3 separate regions of the Homo sapiens genome follow, and all the other regions are linked to region 1. The links are contacts of gene promoters, found by promoter capture Hi-C in human tissues and cell types (Jung and others, 2019). All regions are on one chromosome and are shown on one strand. Each heading gives the region's core, a stretch centred on a gene start or on the middle of the fragment in contact. The rest is flanking DNA. Distances are from core to core; before and after follow the strand shown. Region 1 holds the start of SKOR2 (SKI family transcriptional corepressor 2). Region 2 overlaps MIR4527HG (MIR4527 host gene). Region 3 overlaps MIR4527HG (MIR4527 host gene).

Region 1 (2,512 bases), core at 9-2,508:
AAGGTTAAGATTTCACATTTTTGCTCTTGTATTTAGGAGTGGTATGTTGTTGGTGCTATGACACAATCTGGGTGGGCTTTCAGCTTGGTAGATGTTTTTCCATCATTTCCACAATGCTAGGACTGTTTCACTAGGCAGCAATTGAAAATTCAGCTATGGTAGTAAAGGAAAAACTTAAAGGATTTCCCAGCCCCACCCCAGCCGGCATCCTTCTTAGAACATACTCCAAATAAGTGGTTTCTTTCCTTTCCGATAAACTAGCCAGTGGTCGTTTTGACTCTTAACAGCTGGTCAATTGGGACGCACTATATTGACACTTCATTAATACACTAGGGTGCGCCTCATTTAGGGAAACTGTGAGGAAATGTTTTCTCATCCTAGTCTTTATTTTAGGGGAGGAGATCATGCTTCTACATGTTTTCCTGATTAAATTTATTTATTTCTCCAGGAAAATTGGCAACTTGCTGAAGGACTCTTCCATGTGGGGGACCTCCCTGCTTCCCTGCCCCACCCTTTCCTTGTGTAGAGGTAGCCTTACGGATCTTGTAAAATGGGTTAGAGGACGATTCTGAATGAAGTTTGATAAATCGATGTGCATATGCACATATTGGGGTCCTCACCTAATTGTACACTCCATAAAATAGAGAAGGCTGCAGTGACTCTGCATCTTGTCCTATAAAGCAAATGTATATGCAAAAGTCGGGGCACTCCAAGTTTTCTGATTGGGCACCCTATGTGGAAACTTCTCTCCTTTTTCTCATTTCATAGCGTTTCAAAGGAGTCACTGAAGCTAATTTATTCTCCAGCTGACTGTGGATTCTGTCTTCAGACACAGAGCAGCTTTGCATCCTGTACCAGAGGGATCATTCATGAAGGAGGGTGACTCAGAAATGAGGGGAGGAGACAATAACGGTCAGGGATATAGTTAATTTGGAGGCGTCCTTCTAGAATCCGGGGCCTCCAGGATCTAGGTCCCGGGATGCAGGCAGACTGTTCGCTTTCCACTCCTAAATCAGATCTGCGGCTCCAGCACCATTGCTGCAGTTTACTCCGGGGCTGAGGAGGTTGTTGTCAATTGCGAGTTGGTTAGGTTGGTAGCTTTCGTGCCTGCTGAGAAAGGATCTCTCTGTTGCTCGCGCTGGCTTTCGCTCTCCCCCTCCCTCCCTGTAACATGCCAGCCCTTTAATGTGGAGTGTCAGGGAGACGGTGACGTCACCCTGCCCGCTGGGTGGCGTCCCCTCGGTCCGACACGAGTTCAGAGACAGACGCTGTCAGACTGCGCTCCACTTGGGGCTCTCCTGCCGCGGGTTTCTGCGTACCCACACTTTCTGCGGTGGAGGGGACGCCCCGCCGCAATTCAGGCCGTCATTCTCCCCAGGCCGGGGTTTGAGCGCCATTCGCTCGGGCCAGAGCCCGGATCTTCGCGCGGAGCCCGCCAGAGTCCCGCCCGCTGGATACGAGGACCCGCTTGGATGCTTCGCCTCCGAGCGCCCTCGGAAGATGGGCCGGCAGCCACACGCCTAAAGACACCCAGAGGTTACCAGGTATTGCCGGAACCGGCCGCCCCAATCCGGCACACAGCTTGCTGGGCACCTATTTGAGATCCCCAGCGGTAGGATTTTCCGCGTTAGGTTGAGGGGCAGCGGTGGGCTTCCGTGGTGACTGGTTTGGGAGTCGGGAGAACTAAGTTGGGGGTGGGGGGGTCTTTGGCTGTTGGGCAGGATAGGGAAGTTCACCAGGTTCCTTTCTCAGTTCAACTAACTTTTAATTGTCTCTTCTCCCCTCCCCACCCACCCAAAAAATAATGCCCCAACCAAAACCTTGTGTCTGCTCTGACGGCAGTTTCTGGGAGGGCTTGGGGTAAAAGTGAGGAGACACTTCTGCCTGGTCTACTGCTGCTAAGGCTGCGAGTCCTTAACGCAGAGCCAGCTTCCCGCCCCGGCTGGCCAGCCGCGCGCCTTGCTGGGGAGCGAGAGTTGGAATTATCCCAGGGTCTTATTAAGCGGATATGAATCTTGTTTGGTAGGGAAATGAGCATCGAAGGGCCACCTGACGAAGCTAGTGTTGGTTGTATCAGACTCGGGTGTCACTGCGCCTTGAACTGCCATGTAACGCCCTGTCCCCTGGAAATATTGTCTCTGATCCACCCAAAGTGACAAGCAGGCTTTCCTCTCCTTTGATCGCGTCGAGGTTTGTTCAAGCTTCCTGGAGGCCGCCAAATGTAATGAGAACTGAGGATCCAGGGGGCAGCAGGACAGAGGCTGCTGTATAGATGCCACAGGGGCCCAGAGAGAGGACACGGATAAGAAATTGGGTGAGGGAGTAAGATCGTGTACCCTCTGAAAGCACTGTAATAGCGAACTCGCTGTACGTGGCCGAAAGGGGCCACGCTATGGCCTCTGGTGATTTTTCAGGGCAAAGCATGCCTTGGCCAATGCGCTTGAGATGTAGCTGTGGAAAGATCAGTGTTTGTTTTCCTAGGGAGTGAGCCACTTTCCTTCTTTCCACTTAG
Region 2 (2,512 bases), core at 6-2,505, 310 kb before region 1:
GGGAGAAGCAAACAGATGCTGTTCAAACTGAACTTGAAGTTATACTTTGAACTGAACAGGATTGTCCTCACTGAAAGTGATCAGAAAGTTGTGGAATTTAAGTTGTCATTGAAGCATGGAGGTAGGAGACTGAGCATAGTAGGTTTGTAATCATGCTCCCTCCTTTTCAGTGAGCACAGCCACTCCCCAGCCCAGAAACAGAGCTCCCTGTCTCATATATGGGTTTTAAATCTGAGAAAGGATCCTGATTGCACAGGTTTGGGTCAATCTTCAGTCCCTCCCTGTGAACTGGCCACTGTGGGGGAAGTTCTGTAGGTAGAGAAGCTCAGTCCATCCCCAGAGGGCCGGGGAGTGGGGTATGGGAAGGGGTTCTCTTATTAGAGAAGACAGCAGCAGGGAGCTTGGGGGTAGTTACCTGCATGGAGGGAGTCAATCCCAGTGTGAGTGTTTTGTGGCTGTGCACAGCTTTGTGCTGAGTTCCTCCATTCATCTGAAAGGAGTCAATGCCTCTCCTGCCAGAATGGGGTCTCCAATCCTACCTCATCGCCTCTCATATGTGAGTTGGGTCTCCCATGTGTGAGAACAGGCTCCTGTGAGGCCCCTGCCTCCTTCTCTAGCATCCTCCTCTACGCCAAACAGAAAGCCAAGGAGGTGGGAGGTGCTCAGTGAATGCCTCGTGAATGAGTGTCTGCCTGAGTGAATGAATGACTCTGTGAATGAAAGGAAAGGAAATGAAGAGCAATTAGACACACACATACCCAGAGCTCACCTAACCACACAGCTTCCTGCCCTCCACTCATCTGCTAAAAGCTTTGTGCCCATAATATCAGGTTTGGGCTCCTCAGTCCCTGAGGGGAGGGCAAGAGGCTGCTGCTCTGTGGTCTGCAGGAGAAGGCACCAGGCTAGGGACCAGGGGAGTTGTCCTGCTGTTAATTACTTGTGTGACCTTGGGCAAGCCACTTAACCTGCCTTTGCTTCAGTTTCATCGTCCATCAAATGGGGCTAATGCTCTCTGTGTGTTTACCCCACAACAGGCATGAGGAAAACAGACAAGATGGCAAAGTTAACAGCACTTAGACAAATCTAAAAGAAAAACAGTGAGGGAGAAGGAAGGCATTCTTATGACCCTGGGCCTCCCTCGGGGGTGCATTTGATTACACAGCTGGATGTTAGCGTGGTGTGTGGGGAAGGCAGGAAGGCCCTCCACACCGAGAAGCTCGCACTTTCAGAGAAAATCCCCCAATATCCAGATGGGGTCCTGTCGTGTGCCCAGCCCTGAGAGGGGAGAATTTAAAAATGAAAGAATCCCGCCTGCCCTTAAGAAAAGATACACACCTGTAAACAATTGGATCTGCAAAAAGGGTTCAGTCATGTGTCACAGAAAATCAGTCAGTCCATAGATATTTGTTGAGCAACTACTATGTACTGGGTGCTGTTCTAGAAGTTCAGGATAGGAGGCGGACAGAGTCCTGCCCAAAGAGCTACACACCAGGGAGTGAATGAACAATAAACAAGCAGGCAGTAAATGAATGGGATGGCATCAGAGCCTGGTAAATGCTGTTTTAAAAAAATGAATAGGGTAACGCCATAAAGAGCAGCTGCGGTGGAGTAGGAGGCTGCTTTAGTGGAATGATCACAGAAAGGGTCTGGAAGGTGATGACATTAGAGCCGAGGCACACAGATGACAGCCAGAGGGCAGCGGAGGGAGGGCCCGGAAACGGGCAGGGTACCGCAAGCACAGGGAACACAGGATAAGGTGGGCTGGGCCTGGCAACATCCACCTTTACTGGCTATGAGGAGGAGGGCAAGGCAGTGGGAACCCACTGGAGGCTTAAGTAGGGGTGGACATGATCTGAGAGAGAGAGAGTGACCAAGCAAATGTGGCACAGTGTTGATGATGGATGGATATGGGTGATGAAGGCGTGACAATTCTCGTATTTTTCTTGCAGGTTTTCTACTTGGTTGAAATTATTTCAAAATAAGAAGATGAAAAACAAAAGACCACTTAGGCTTCTGGTGGACAGCTGATTGCAGGGATTGGGGGAGGAAGGACGCCTGAGGAGGCTCTTGCAGGAGTCTAGGTGACTTGGACTAGGGGGAAGATGGAAGAGAGAGGTCATTTCCAGGTCATATTTAAGGAAGTTGTGTTTGTTTTGTATTGCTCCTATAACAAGTTACCACAAACATGGTGGTTATCAAAAACACAAATTTGTCATCTTATAGTTCTGTAGGCTAGAAATCCAACACAAGTGTCACTGGGCTAAAATCACGATGTCGAGCTGTGCTCCTTTCTGGGGGCCCCAGGAGAGAATCCATTTTCTTGCCTCTCCAGCTTCCAGAGGCTTCTTTCCAGCTCTTGCACAGAACCTCCTGCTTACAGAACCAGAAAGGGTATTGAATCCTTCTCATGCTGTCATCTCTGTCTGACCACAGCCTAGAAAAGTCCTTGCTTTTAAGGACTTATGTGATTGCATCGGGCCCACCCAAGTAATCCAGAATAATCTTTCCATCT
Region 3 (2,512 bases), core at 4-2,503, 290 kb before region 1:
CTATACACCATTAACGGACAAACAGAGAGCCAAATTATGAGTGAACTCACATTCACAATTGTTACAAAGAGAATAAAATACCTAGGAATCCAACTTACAAGGGATGTGAAGGACCTCTTCAAGGAGAACTACAAACCGCTGCTCAAGGAAATAAAAGAGGACACAAACAAATGGAAGTATATTCCATGCTCATGGATAGGAAGAATCAATATCGTGAAAATGGCCGTGTTGCCCAAAGTAATTTATAGATTCAATGCCATCCCCATCAAGCTACCAATGACTTTCTTCACAGAATTGGAAAAAACTACTTTAAAGTTCGTATGGAACCAAAAAAGAGCCCGCACTGCCAAGATAATCCTAAGCAAAAAGAACAAAGCTGGAGGCATCACTCTACCTGACTTCAAACGATACTACAAGGCTACAGCAACCAAAACAACACGGTACTGGTACCAAAACAGAGAGATAGACCAATGGAACAGAACAGAGGCCTCAGAAATAACACCACACATCTACAACCAGCCAATCTTTGACAAACCTGACAAAAACAAGATATGGGGAAAGCATTCCTTATTTAATAAATTGTGCTGGGAAAACTGGCTAGCCATATGTAGAAAGCTGAAACTGGATCGCTTCCTTACACCTATACAAGAATTAATTCAAGCTGGATTAAAGACTTAAATGTTAGACCTAAAACCATAAAAACTCTAGAAGAAAACCTAGGCAATACCATTCAGGACATAGGCATGGGCAAGGACTTCATGACTAAAACACTAAAAGCAATGGAAACAAAAGCTGAAATAGACAAATGGGATCTAATTAAACTAAAGAGCTTCTGCACGGCAAAAGAAACTACCATCAGAGTGAACAGACAACCTACAAAATGGGAGAAAATTTTTGCAATCTACCCATCTGACAAAGGGCTAATATCTAGAATCTACAAAGAACTTAAATTTACAAGAAAAAAACAAACCCATCAAAAAGCTGGCAAAGGATATGAACAGACATTTCTCAAAAGAAGACTTCTATGCAGCCAACAGACACATGAAAAAATACTCATCATCTCTGGCCATTGGAGAAATGCAAATCAAAATCACAATGAGACACCACCTCATGCCAGTTAGAATGGCAATCATTAAAAAGTCAGGAAACAACAGATGCTGGAGAGGATGTGGAGAAATAGGAATGCTTTTACATTGTTTGTGGGAGTGTAAATTAGTTCAACCATTGTGGAAGACAGTGTGGCGATTCCTCAAGGATGTAGAACTAGAATTGCCATCTGACCCAGCAATCCCATTACTGGGTGTATACCCAAAGGATTATAAATCATGCTACTATAAAGACACATGCACACGTATGTTTATTGTGGCACTATTCACAATAGCAAAGACTTGGAACCAACCCAAATGTCCACCAATGATAGACTGGATTAAGAAACTGTGGCACATATACACTATGGAATACTATGCAGCCATAAAAAAGGATGAGTTCATGTCCTTTGCAGGGACATGGATGAAGCTGGAAACCATCATTCTCAGCAAACTATCACAAGGACAGAAAACCAAACAACGCATGTTCTCACTCATAGGTGGGAACTGAACAATGAGATCACTTGGACACGGGGCAGGGAACATCACACACTGTGGCCTGTCAGTGGGTAGGGGGCTGAGGGAGGGATAGCATTAGAAGAAACACCTAATGTGAATGATTAGTTGATGGGTGCAGCAAGCCAACATGGCACATGTATACCTATGTATCAAACCTATACATTGTGCACATGTACCCTAGAACTTAAAGTATTAAAAAAAAAACAAAACTGTTCTTCTCCAGGTCCCCAGTTTTACCTTCCTGCTGCCAAGTCTTACAGGGAATTTTTGGTTCTTATCCTGCCCTCTTAGCTAGAATTTAGCACAGGACATATTCTCAATCTGTTACATACTCATTTATTTATCTGTCTGTTGCCTGTCTCCCACCCTGAAATGTAAACTTCCCGTGGGTGGGATGTTTGTGTATTTAAATTACTGGTGTATCCCTGGTGCCCACTCTGGCACCTGCCACATGGTAGATGTTGGATAGATGTTGGCATTGCCCAATGCACTTCCCTCCAACAATCTCAAATCTACCCCACATCACTAAGACACACAGTCATAAAATTTCAGATTTGAGGGAAACCTTTGACATGGTTAGATCAGTGTTGCTGTCCTAAAGGTGATGTTACCAACCTGATGTTCCACTGCTGGAAGCTTCTGGAAGAGCTAGCACTTGAGCCAAGTCCTCTTGGTTTTCTGCTGAGGCTCTTTCCATAACCTGTGACCCTATGCTTGTGTGACTTAGCCTGGGTGCTATAGAGTCCACTCATGGCAGGAGCAGAGGTTTGAGAGTGTGACCTCTCAAGACCAAACTGGATTCAATAACCCAGCAGGGGAGAAAAGTGTGCACATGGCAATTTATGATCTTTTTTAAAAAAACTAATTTTGTGAAAGAGTATCTAGCTTTAGTTCAACTAGTTAAATGA

What was found. Contacts are between HindIII fragments. The study calls those that stand out against the background at their distance.
Region 2: a fragment that was not itself captured here is called in contact with the fragment with the promoter of SKOR2 in region 1 in 2 of the 25 tissues and cell types used here (dorsolateral prefrontal cortex and mesendoderm cells).
Region 3: a contact is called between a fragment that was not itself captured here and the fragment with the promoter of SKOR2 in region 1, in 2 of the 25 tissues and cell types used here (dorsolateral prefrontal cortex and mesendoderm cells).

The regions. Positions count from the first base shown.
Region 1 is chr18:47,250,406-47,252,917 of GRCh38, reverse strand. SKOR2 (SKI family transcriptional corepressor 2) reads left to right here and starts at 1,258. Exons shown (of 9, transcript NM_001278063.4): 1 at 1,258-1,544. RefSeq lists an enhancer at 874-1,390. The HindIII fragment of the contact is 10,120 bases long and covers 1-2,512 here.
Region 2 is chr18:47,556,552-47,559,063 of GRCh38, reverse strand. The region is part of intron 1 of MIR4527HG (MIR4527 host gene); the gene reads right to left. Among named protein-coding and RNA genes, the nearest start is that of MIR4527, 180 kb to the right of the region's middle. The HindIII fragment of the contact is 3,638 bases long and covers 1-2,512 here.
Region 3 is chr18:47,538,120-47,540,631 of GRCh38, reverse strand. All of the region lies in intron 1 of MIR4527HG (MIR4527 host gene), which reads right to left. Among named protein-coding and RNA genes, the nearest start is that of MIR4527, 160 kb to the right of the region's middle. The HindIII fragment of the contact is 3,776 bases long and covers 1-2,512 here.